Linked DNA regions of Homo sapiens: region 2 is linked to region 1. Evidence: promoter capture Hi-C in human tissues and cell types (Jung and others, 2019). All regions are on one chromosome and are shown on one strand. The core of a region is centred on a gene start or on the middle of the fragment in contact, and the rest is flanking DNA. Distances in the headings are between cores, read along the strand shown. Region 1 holds the start of SNX7 (sorting nexin 7). Region 2 overlaps LOC124900404 (a long non-coding RNA gene).

What was found. Contacts are between HindIII fragments. The study calls those that stand out against the background at their distance.
Region 2: a contact is called between a fragment that was not itself captured here and the fragment with the promoter of SNX7 in region 1, in 1 of the 25 tissues and cell types used here (dorsolateral prefrontal cortex).

What each region holds. Positions count from the first base shown.
Region 1 is chr1:98,657,309-98,663,695 of GRCh38, reverse strand. SNX7 (sorting nexin 7) reads right to left here and starts at 1,975. Exons shown (of 9, transcript NM_015976.5): 1 at 1,785-1,975. The coding sequence starts at 1,964. SNX7-DT (SNX7 divergent transcript) reads left to right here and starts at 2,924. Exons shown (of 1, transcript NR_189290.1): 1 at 2,924-3,389. RefSeq lists silencers at 1,594-1,663, 1,894-2,013, 2,034-2,173. The HindIII fragment of the contact is 3,254 bases long and covers 1-3,066 here.
Region 2 is chr1:98,055,440-98,061,956 of GRCh38, reverse strand. All of the region lies in intron 1 of LOC124900404 (a long non-coding RNA gene), which reads right to left. Among named protein-coding and RNA genes, the nearest start is that of MIR137HG, 9.0 kb to the right of the region's middle. The HindIII fragment of the contact is 3,202 bases long and covers 2,940-6,141 here.

The sequences.
Region 1 (6,387 bases), core at 726-3,225:
AATGATTGGAGCCATGGAGATCTAGATTCCTTAGTCTGAGAGAGCTTTAGGCAATTCACCAGAAATGCTTATTTAGAAATGCTTCTGGTCGGGACCTGTCATTTCCTTCCCACCTAGAACATCTGCGACTCCAGCAACCCCCAACACGCCCAGAGGTCTAAGCAAACGAATAGCGCTGAAGCTTCAATTTCATTAGCTTCACCTTGGATCTGCCTCTGACAAGAGGACCTCATTTAAACATTGATTCTTAAGAGTCAGCTAGAACACCTAGAATCTGGGGAAAGAGAAACCACTTGACAAGTTTAAAACAATCCGAGTCACTGTGGCTCAAGCCTGTAATCCCAAACCCTTTGGGTGCTGGAGGTGGTAGAATCCCTTGAGGCCAGATGGGTCCAGCCCCGACAAAAAAAAAAAAAAAAAAAAAAAAAAAAAAAAAAAAAAACCAGAAAGAAACCCTGATGATTCTGATACACCATTGCTATTTCCAACATCCCATCCCAAAGTTTCACAATGCATAACCATAGACTAATATTCCTTATCCAAACAGCAATGTAAAGAAGGAAAGAAAGTAAATAACCAACTGGCCAACTGTCGTTGATCTGAACATGAAGTATGTGTGGAATATAAAAAGGCAGAGTTTACAACTAAACATAAAATAATTCCATTGTTTTACTACTTAACAGAAAAGTCAAGAGCACAAAACTGTGATAGTCTGTTTAAATATTCGGAATACAAACCTGGGCCTATCATTCCATTTAAACCGAAGTAGAAATAAGTTTTATATACTCCTCTTTGGAGTCAGAGTATGCATGGTCACTTCCTAACTTTGGTTTGCTCTCCCAGAGTAAATGCGGTGGTTAAGTAGGTCGTTTGCTTTACCTAATATCTCCAGGTAACGTTAAAATGAACAGGCTTCTTAGTAATGAATACAGCGTTGTGATCTGAACTCAGGTCTTCTCTCAGCAGCAACTTGAGAAACTGGAGTGACATTCAACCTCCCTGCAAGAAAGGTATTTTTCTTTTCTAAAACCCTTTAAGAAATTACAAACACCAGTCTACACGTACCAAAAGTCTACCACTAGCCCCCACAAGTCAATTTCCCTCCAACAGTAAAATAAGCAAATAAGAGCCTTTGGTCCTAAATTTCCCGGGGGCAAGGAAAAACGAAAGCACTGGCTGTGGGTTGGGTGGCAGTAGCTGACCATCTGAAAAATCCTTAGCTCCTCAGCGGAGGAGCTTCCTGTTAGAAACAACCGTTTTCTCCTGTTCAGGGAGATTTCCTAGAACCTATTCCCACAAGACCCGAGACTCACCCAAGTCTCAAATCCACAAGCAACAACACTAAATTAAGAATAATTTCTCTAAACTTGGCTGCTCTCCCAGAGTTCAGGGCTGGCCTCGCCCGAAAAGCAGCTGGCGGGAGCGGTTTTGAGCCACCAGCCTCCCAGGTTCGGGAGCTGCCGCGAGGAAGATGTCTGTGTCAGAGAAGCAGAAAGGGAAAACAAATCACAACTTTGCAGACTCCACTAAGCCACAGCCCCGCCGAACGGAAGGTCAAAGTGCGGAGGAGGGAGCGGCTGCGGTTTGAGGCCCCGAGGCGACGCGGCCCCGGGTGCGGCCAGAGCTGGCAGGCGGGGTCCAGCAGCCCGGGGGACCTCACTCGTCCCCAGCTCAGAGCCACCGCCCCGGGAGGGCAAGCGCGCCAGAGGCAGCCGTCGGCGCAATGCTGGCAACGCCCGGAGTTGCCTTGGAAGTTTCCCGGGACTCGCCGCCGCCGCCCTCACCTTGCTGAACACCTCCAGGTCGTCCTCGTCCTCGTCCAGATCCAGCACCTCCGCCTGCAGCAGGGCGGAAGAGCCACTGCTGCCCGGAAAGGGGGCGCCGCCCCCCGGGCTCTCCCCGTTGGCGCCCCCGGCCGGGAGGCCCGAGGAGGGCGCCTGCGATGCCCGGCGCTCGCCCTCCATCCCGAGAGTGCGCGCCCAGCCGGCCGCCACCGCCGCCGCCAGCCCGGCTCCCCCGAGCGTGCCCATTGGCTCCCACGTCTCCTGCACCTCCCCGGCCGGCCCCGCTCCAGCCCCTCGCCCGCTGCGCAGACGCGGAACTGCCGGGACCAGCGCTGGCCCGGGCCGGGCGCATCCCCACCTGGCCTGGGGCGGGCTGGAGGGGCGGAACTGGGACTCTCGGACTCCGGCTACGTTGGAGAAAGGGTTGGCTGTACCCTGGAGAAGAGGAGAGACTCAAAGGTAGGAGGTGGGCGTCCTCGCATTGACCCAGTCGGGGGCCACCGAGTGACGGTTTCCGCAGTGGCGGGGTCTGGGAAGAAGCCACGAAGCGAACCGTCCACTTCGCGGGATCCACAGCGAGGCTGGAAGGCACCCGACCCAGCCTTGCCAAGAGAAAAAAAAAAAACAGCAATAACAATACTGTATTTCCTGTATTCAGTGGTTGCCTTTCTTCTTGGTTGTGATTTTCGAGCTAATGTAAAAATAAAGACATGAAAACTTCCCGTTTTGTTAATTGATTTTTGACCCAGTGACTGGCCTGTGCGGTCATTTCACTGTCGAGCCAGGAAAGCTGAGCTTTACAAACTATTTTCAGCCACTTTCAAATGCATCTTTACTCCTGGACGTCTTCCTGAAGTTAATGAGCAGAATGTTACCAAGACCCAAGGACAACTAGCAAGTCTGGAAAATTGCCACCGAGAAATAATCTTCAGTCCTTGCATTGCCAAGGCAAAGCTTTAATTATTTAACTGCTTATTATTCAAAAACAAAACTAAGTTCCAAAACTAATGGAAAATTTTGCCCACGTTGATATATTCTTTAATTTATCTTCAGGTTTTATTTACTTCCGTCAGCCCCACCTCTTTTCTGTAGGCCCATTTAAAAATTTTTAAATACATTAAGCTCTATGTAAGAATTCCTTATTTGGGGAAATAGAGAATATCTTTATTTCTGATTAGAGGCAAGGCCTTAATAATATATTATCTCCTAATCATTCAAATGTATTCCCATTGATTTCAGACGTGCACCCACCCTTCAGTCAGGTTGGTCACTGCCCCATGAGTATCCACATTTGTTTCTGTGCTTGATGATTTCTGTACTTTAAATGCCATCTCCTGCCCATCCTTCAGAAATTAAATATAGTCCCATCTCTTTCAGAAAGACTTTCTAAATGACAGTCTGTTCTCAATTTAGCATTTAATTTTATTCCATCTTGCAGATTGTATTTGTTTCATGTACAAGTTTTCCATTCCTTAGTAAATGATAACATTTTCAGGTTGAGGATCCTGATATGTATTAACCACAGTATCAGATGTACTCTCAAAATGCTCTCTGCTAATTTCTGTAAATAATATAAGTTATTAAAAGACTTTATTTTTTCCTTGATAAGCTTATTCTGACTAGTAAGGAAGATTCAAGGTTTTCTAATTGCAATCTGAACCAGGAAATTCTTAATAATGCTGTAACTCACAGAATTGCTAGAAACCATAGAGAATGGGCTCAGAAAATGGGCAGAATAAAGCAAGGCTGCACAGCTTGGATTATAGCCAAAAGCAAGGCCACAGAACCAGTGGTACAGACATTGCTGCTACCATTGCCTGATACTGGTTGCCACACCATCTTCACCAGTGTCAATATTGTCATTAACACTGATGTTACTGGACTCCAGTTGCTTTCCCTGGCAGCAGTACCACAGCTACCTCTGAGAACTTCCCTGCTATTACTGCCACAAAAATGTCTCCATCACCCTGTTTCTCTGTGTTGATTTTTCTAGTATTAAAACCCTGGAGAGTATGTGTGCTTGGCCAATCTGGCCAAGTTTCATGGAAATTCCTAAGGCAGAGAATTTTCTAAACATAGAAAGGCCATATTGATGCTTGTCAACCAAAAACAAGAAAAATAGGAAGAGGGGTAGGATGAGGAAGAAGAGTAGGGAAAACGTGACTATAATTTGCCCCTTTGGCTGTCCAATTAATATTACCTTTCTTCACATACTCCCCCTACCTCCATGCTTTGAGCACCTGAGCATGCAGTTCACAGCCCCTCAAAGGGAGATAATCCCAAACCTACTCATTATTAGTACAACTCCAAAGCAGTATGTCTATTCCTCCTGTAGTCTCAGCTTCCTATTAAGTGGGACTATCACTGGGTTTTTTTGTTTGTTTGTTTGTTTGTTTTTGAGACAGAGTCTCACTCCCTCGCCGAGGCTAGAGTGCAGTGGCGTGATCTCTGCTCACTGCAACCTCCGCCTCCCGGGTTCAAGCGATTCTCCTGCCTCAGCCTCCTGAGTAGGTGGGACTACAGGCGTGCGCCACCACGCCCAGCTAATTTTTTGTATTTTTAGTAGAGACAGGGTTTCACCATGTTGGCCAGAATGGTCTCGATCTCTTGACTGCATGATCCACCCGCCTCGGCCTCCCAAAGTGCTGGGATTACAGGCTTAAGCCACCGTGCCCAGCCTATCACTAGGTTTTTTAATGGAAGAATTCTTACTTGGGTACTAAAGCCTTTAAACCAGCATAGTCCAAAACTTGGAGTGCAAGTATAATATTAAGAGCAGCCCTACCCACTCCTGTCCTGTTTAAGAGAAATAATATCATACATTAATTTATGGTTTCATGAATATACATCTTGTCAAAAAGCTTTCTCTCCCTTATACTTTCCAGATGGGATCTCTTCAGACCATAACTGGATCTTTAATATTCAATTCCACCATCTATGAAGTCTGCTGTTTCTAGTAATGGGTTTTGTGATGAGACAAGTTACCCCATGGGCATTGCCCAAAGGCTTTACTTCTTTTGCTAGAAAGTGATTTAACTAGTTAGAAAAAAATATAATGTGCAAAATCTACTGAGGAATAGACCAGTCAATAAGTTCATGGACGAGCGTGTTGAGGGAAATCTGATGAGCAGAAAAAGCAAAGCCAATTTGACTTTTCCACTAAAGACAAATCATGGCATCCTCCAGTGTGGCAGGGTAAGGGTCCTGCATAGTTGCTGTGGCAAGCTGAGTGCTGAGCAATGGAAGCAGCCAATTATCCTTTAGTGAGAGGAAATCCTTATTTTTGAGCCAATGCATAGCATAAATCCCTGCCACCATGGCCACATGGTATGTGAAGCCATAGAACAAGCACTGGAGTTTCTAGAAAAGCAGTAAGATTAACATCCACAGGAGAATAAGCATTATTTTCAAACTTATTTCTGATGACATAAATTCATCAAATGAAAAGGCTTTTTTGGAGAGCATTGTTGTGGGCTACATACAAATATGCTTTTATTCTGGGGCCATTCCAAGAAAGTCACCTACATACATTTTCTCAAACCTTCTTGACCCCGAGATCCTACCTTGTTTCTTCTAAGTCTCATCAAGTCAAACCTCTAGCCTTTGTCCTGGAAAGAGCATAGAAGCCTCATTCTAACTGCCCTTTGAAGCATAGTGGGCACTGTTGTATACCAAGAGGAGGATTTCCCTTGTCCACTGCCCTTTTGCACTGCAATAACTACTAACTGATTCCCGCAAATGATAAAGATCCATCTGTAAACCAACTTTGGAGTTTTTACCCCTTAGTTAACTGTTCAGATAAAACTCCCTATGAGATCATAGGGGTAGACCTGCTGAGAGTAAAAGCCAAATGCTCATGCAATGTATGCTTATAGGACCACTTTCAAATATTACATTTCCACATGAGCATGGCTTGCTGAAGTAAGGCTGGATCAATTTTAGGATTTTTTTCATTATAGCACCCATTTCATGAGGAGCTGCTTGGATCACATAGTCACCTGATGTCACATGCTTATGTATCTAGTTGATATTGTTTGGCTATTTGTCCCCTCCTAAAGTTATGTTGAAGTGTGATCCCAAATGTTGGAGGTGGGGCCTAATGGGAGATGTTTGGGTCATGGGGGAGGATCTCTCATGAATGGCTTGGTGCCCTCCCTGTGGTAGTGAGTGAGTTCTTGCTCTATTAGTTCACACAAGAAATGATTGTTTAAAAAAAAAGAGCATAGCACCTATCTCTCTCTCTCTCACTCTGACTCTTTTTCTGAATCTCTCTCTCTCGCTCACTCCCTCTCTTGTCCTATGACATGCCTGTCTGTGCCCCCTTTGCCTTCTGCCATGAGTGTAAGCTTCCTGAGGCCTCAGCAGAAGCCAAGAAAATGCTGATGCCATGCTTGTACAGGCTTCAGAACTGTGAGCTAAATTAATCTCTCTTCTTTATAAATTACCCAGCCTCAGGTATTCCTTCATAGCAATACAAAACAGACTAACGCACTCATCTTCGCCAAAACCTGGTAACAAGCCAATGGCTGGTTTCTTAAATCTATCAGAGAGAGCACATTTTGCTCTAAAACATTAGTCTTTTTGATTTTCTTTCAGAACTTGT
Region 2 (6,517 bases), core at 3,291-5,790, 600 kb after region 1:
TCCATAAATGAGAATTGTGAAAAAGCCACACTGCGTTGTATATAAGAGCCTTCCCTCATAAATCAGAACTTGATTTGAAACCAGTCTCTACTTTTTTTTACTAGATGGGAGACTTTGAACAAGGCATTTCAGTCTCTGTAGTCTTAGTTCTCTCAGAGTAATTTCATGTGGGGTTGCTGTAAGATGCAACGGGATAAGATGTGTCCTATATTCAGCACAGTGACTGGCATTTAGCAAGAACTAAAGAGGCACCGGCCATTTTGTCAGCAATGATGAAAGTTCTGCTTATTTTTAAAAAACATTCTCATTTATCTTTCTGGAAATTGATATACAAAATATCTTGGGATCACATTATTAAATATATCATAAAAATTACTCTAAAAGAAGTCTTACATATCAACTGTAAAAATTATACACATTGGATGGTTCTACAAAGAGTTTAATCATTGCTTTATCTTGTATAAGCCTAGAGAAAACCAAGTGGCACAAGGATCAATATCAAACTTCAAATTTTTTTTTCAAAAGGAAAATCTTACATCTAGAGTTCAGGCACATTTTACACATCAGTGAAAATTCCAATCGATATTTCTGAAACTTGTTGGCTGGCATAGATTTTCTATATAGTTGGAAAATTGTATCCAGTTAAATTGTGAAATGTTTAAACAAGGCAACAGAAGTTATGCTGGTATAAATGCAAATAATATTTTAAAATTTAGTGACTAACCAAAGTCTCTAATCTTTGGTCTTATCTAAATCTAGGGAAATTAGTTTGATGATTCTAAGTCCTATTTGTGTGTTCATCATCCACATTCTGTTCATTTTTTGAAATCAAAAAGGGACATCCTATTTTTTTGCATAAAAGCTTATTTTAATCAACAAACAACAATCATCCCACTGAAAATAATTAAATACCTATTTAAAACATAAAAGTCAGTATTTTCAAAAAGTGTACTTTTATCATTTACTTCTGTTTTTTAAAGTTTGGTTAGGATGAGGTATTTTATTTTTTTGAACGAAAGCTTTTTTCAGATGACACTAAAGGGCTGCCCTCCCTCTCTTCCACCCATATCCATACCAATCATTTCTGTGCCTCAAAGCAATTTCTGACATGAGTAGCATCTCTTCAACATGCTAGCTGCCTGAACCTTAAAAGTAAACACTAACAGTGAAAATAATCCCTCAACTTTTAAAAGGAAAATCTCAGAGGTACCATAATGCTAAGGAAGACTTCATTTCACCCTGGATTTTATTTAACTATTATTCTGAGTTGTCTCTTTTCAAAGCAGGAAACATTTCTCCTTTGGCAATGTTCTAAGCAAATGACTTTATTTCAATTATATAAACCATAAATAAACAGAAATAAAAGAGATTAATGAGCACCGGTGCAACTGAATGACAGTCGTTAACGACAATTTTGCTTTATTGAAAAACCTCTCTCTGACTTTTGTTCCATTAAGACCATATCCCAATTATCTCAGTTTCATTCTGCCATTAGCAACCTTATTTTCTTAGAAATAGTACTGATAGATGGGTTTTAAACTGTACTTTTATAAGTAAGACAGACTACAATCAAGAAAGGGGTTCCCATGTATAGTTTGTGGGAATACGTTTGAAATGATCACACTTCCTAACTGGTCTTGCAAATCAGACTTCAGCTAAATGTAGTACTCCATTATAAGGGACAGGGGAAAAAATTGAATGTTGGAGTTCAAATTCGTATAATAATTAGAAGGGACATTTATTTCAAAATGTGGAGGACTTGACAGTAAGAAAATGACAGAAATTCAGCTCCACCGTGAATTATAAATGTCAAATTACTGGTATGCATGTAAAAAAGTATGTAGCTATTAGAAACCATACTCTGCATTCACGTGCAGTGCTTCTGCCTTTATCAGTTTCTTATATTCCTCTAAGGTGTTCTGTCATTCACTGTCAAATTTTCAGTGTAAGATTATAAGACATATGTCAGATCAGTGTCCAAAGCTTTCCAGGTTCTGGACACACCAATGCAGTCCCATATTTTACACAATATTAAGTATATTAAATGGGAAAAGCTGCTCAGTTATTAGAAGTCAGTTACAGAGGGTACTCTAGCATGTGATATCATCTACTCTGAGGAATGCAAAGTGCAGGGAAGGGGGGAGCAGCATGACTCTATATTGTGTGTGGACTCACGATGCTGTCAGAGTGTCAGCAGGATGAACAATGAAAAGGATGTTAACTAAATTTTGATGTGCAAGAACATGTGTTTAATTTGCAAGATGCTTTGTTTAATTAAAAGGTAAATACCATTTACAATTCCTCTTGCAGACAAATTTAGAGCTGCAACAACACCTACAGTGTTCAAATTGCCAGCAGAATTTCCTGGATGCATTTGATCAATTAAAAGGGTACACATTTGGGGAAAAATAATTATTTTGTTCCATTTGTTTTCAAATAGAAATGGCTTTATTTTCCATAAACAGATTATTCCTAGAATTTAATGCCTAGCTAAGTATGGATTCAAAGATCCAAAAACCATATTATTATGTACCTGGTGCAGAGCAAACATATCTGAAGGCTAAAAGTTTCTCTTGTCACTCAACCTCCATCTCAAATAGGATTTGTTTTCCTCTTTCTGTCTGTCTGCTTTTCTTTTTTTAGCAGGTTAGCTCCAAAAGGAATGTGGGTCACAAAGACCCTTTCACCCCTTCAGAAAGATAACCTCATTCACATTATTTGGGAGCTTCAACATAATTATTCCGTAAACTCTGTCCAATCTTAAGGCAGATCGAAAAGATCTCAGATCTCATGTTTTCCTTTATTTAAGATTTGCTACTTTTTTCAGTGACCATGGTGGGAGAGGATGCTATTAGTTCTTCAGCCGGCCTCAGGGCAAAAAAAAGTTGAAAAAGACCCAGACTTCTTTACTTACAACTTCTAATCTCCATAATACAGGTAGTAGAGATAACAATTCGACCACATTTCTGCAATTCAACACTTCCTATAGTTGTAGCTTGGTTTCAGATATGCTTGGAGGCAGGAAATATACCAGTGACTCTCCAGAGAATCCAACTTAATCATTTACCTGGTTGATACCACCACATGACATCTGACAACATGAAAGAGAAATTCTGCAAAACTTCTTCAACAGTTCACATGCAGTGAATTGGACTTGGGTGGCCCTCGCTATGTAGTAATCATCTAATAGTTTCTTTCAACCAGTCCTGCCTACATGTTTTGTGTTACATGACTAACATGTAAAATACTAAAATATGAAATAGCCAAACTATTATACTATTAACACATTATATTATAAACTATATCTGTTACATTAATATATCATCAGAACTCCAAAGAAAATAAAAATTAAACTGGCAGAAAACAGTACAAAAGAAACTTCAGTGGAGTAAATGCACTTTTCCCCCTTGTAATATCAGACAAAACCCTCCTCTCCCCTGTCCCAAATTAACAAAAGTTTCATTCTGTATATTTGCCGAGAGGGAGCTTCATTTCATTGCCAAGTCAAATACAGTAAAACACTAGGAAAAAAAAGTGCTCCTCTCAAGTGGCAAATATGGATATAAGACAATTGGCAATTGGTCCAAACCTTGATAGGCAAAAATTCTTGTGAGGAAAGTGGCAGTTTTAAGGAAGTTACTACATCCTATTCATTTGATAATTTTTCATTTCAATGCCCAGTGTATGTTCTCTTTGTAATAACCAGTTCTATTTTCTTAAAAAACACCGTTTTTAATGCATCTCACAATCACAAAACCCAAGATTTTACAGAATTGAATTATTTATACCTTTCCCTCACCAATTATTCCATTGATGAGGGAAGACTACCGTATATCATATTCTAAAAGGGAAAAGTTGAGTTAATCACAAAAACCAATTATAGTAAGCCTTGAAGCTTCTGCCTTAAACTCAAGATAGTGCTCTCTTGCTCTTTGGTTCATCTGCTAGGACAGTCTAATATACATTTGAAAATATGTCAAACATCTTGTTAAATAATTTCCTCTTCGATCTCTTTTTTATATCTTTATCCCAGCTCCTGTACAAGTCTATGTTTTCTCAAAGGCATTTAATCCCCAATTCACAGAAAGACCCTGTGAAGACTCTGGGAAACAGTCTTCCTTGGTCCATGGATGGATCATCTGAGAGGGCTCTACTTACCTGGTTAGGGTTTGCTATGACCATTTACTTCTAATTTCCAGTTGGTGATTTCATTATTTGGCGATTTCATTATTTAGTGATTCATTACTTGGTTTCATTATAAGTTCCTCAAATTTCTTTAACAGAAAAAGCAGAAGAATATCAGCATATTTTTGTCTGCTTTGAATTTTATAACCTATTAAAGGTAATTTTTAAGAAAAATGTCTTTATAAAATGTCTTTATAGCCACTGTTAAGACTGCCATTTGATTCTGTCCCACTCCACCACCAGAATATGTTTCAACAAATGAAGGCCTTTTTTCAGGATTGTTTTATTTTTCCCTCTGTTGAATTCCTAATGCCTAGAACAGTTGCCAAGTTCATGACAATAACTAGTTGTTGAATGAGTGACTGAATCTCTCACAATGAAAGAAGTAGGGACGTGATGCTGTGAGAATGCATGGGTCTTAGAGCTTGAATACAGAAAATCTGGGTTCCAGTTCCCATTCTTCCTCTTACTAGATGGGTGACCTTGAGAATTCTGTATTACCTCTCAGGACATCAACTTATTCATCAGTAAAATAACAGGGTTAGACTAGATCATTTCAAAAAGCCCTTCTTCGGGTCTAAAAATCTGTGAACGCATTTATGGTATAAATTCACACAGACAAGCAAGCTTCATTATATAACATAATAGTTCAAAACTGATATTGATACTAAGGGTTTTAATGAGAGGTGAGAAGAAAAAAAAATCCCAACTTGACAATAACAATCATATTTAAGTAAATTAAACCTTTGGAAAAATCGCAGATCCCCAGCATGACAGGAGGCCATGTGGCCAAATAATTTGCACACAAATGACCCAGAAAGCTAAGACATGGGCTGCAGCCCAATCAGTGACTTAAGGCAGTTCATCTGGTTTTCTCTGATACTTTGAGCCTTACTGAAAATGGAGGAACCCTAAAATCGTTTTTTGAAACATATTCTGGACCTGAACTACCTTTAACATAAAGGGTAAATCAATTTCCACAATTTACTTCAGTACATCATAAGTGTGTCTTAAAATGTGAATGCCAGTCAAAAATCTTTGGTCAATTAATATTGTATATATTTTTTTCTGTTAAAGTGTTCATTCCAGAGGTTTGTTTTGACATTTTTACTGTAACCATTCACCGTTGCAAAGAAGAAATATATGAATGGAGATGAAAAGCACCAAAATCTTGTTAGTGTTAAACTCCTTTGTGAACAAAAGCTAGCAGAAATAAATGTAATGTGGAATGGCTTTCCTGGAGTAGGGTAGGATGGGTCTTGGGGGGTGGAGAAGACTAAATTGGTACTGAGACGAGCCTTTCAGATATCTTTTTAACTGCTTTAACTGCTTTTCAAGCAAAGCTGATGTAGTTATTTTAGTCTTTTGCCATTTTTGTCATTTAATTCACCACTGAGAATAGCCCTATTTCCACATTTGCATCCTTTCAGTATAAAAAGGTATTCACAATTAAGGTGAAAGAAAGCTTCCTCACTGAGAAATATGGGATTCGGGCTGTTAATGATCTACTGCTTAGCATTTTCAGAAAAACCAAGGATCTTTTTGTGTTTCAGCAGTATGGTTAACTGGAATGGATATAGAACCTGGATCTGCAACTCTGGTTTTAAGGCCTGGCTATGCACTTTGCTATGGTAGCTAAATGGATTCATTCTCTCAGTTTTCTCATCTGCGAAATGGGGGTAGGGAGTTCATAACAAACATTTTAAAAAGCAAATATCTCCCTTTGATCAAATGCTTTCATTTCAGGAAAAGAAAATATTTTCTTCTTTTCTTTATGAAAAACAAGACTGAGACCTGAAATATTAGCTTAGTTACTACCAGTCTGAATCCAATACAATAAACCTGAGTTCTCAAGATATCTCTTTTACTGCCTGCTTTCAGATCCTTGCTCTTCTGCTTACCAACTGTTATAACCTTGGTCAAGTAAATAAATCTTCCCAATCCTTACTTTCCTTCTCTGTAAAATGAGAAACTATCGTAGTACCTAATCCACAGGATTGCAGTGGAAATTAAATGAGAAAATGACGATAAAGGTTGCAACACAGCACCTGGCAACGAATAAGCACTCAACACATGTTAGTTTTTATTGTTATAATTGCGATTTTATCCTCAGGAGGAGCTGCAACTCTTTACGACCTGTTCAGATCTCCTGGATTGATGAACACAGAGGAAAGATACCAGATCCCTCTTCATTTCAGCCCCATCCCCTTACTTATTAGCAGTTCAAAGATTCTGCCATCCACCTGAAAATACCAAATAAGAAAACAGACGCCATTTTAAAAGATTGTCTCGTGGATCCTGCCTAGATAGAACAAACTAATTCCGGGGACAG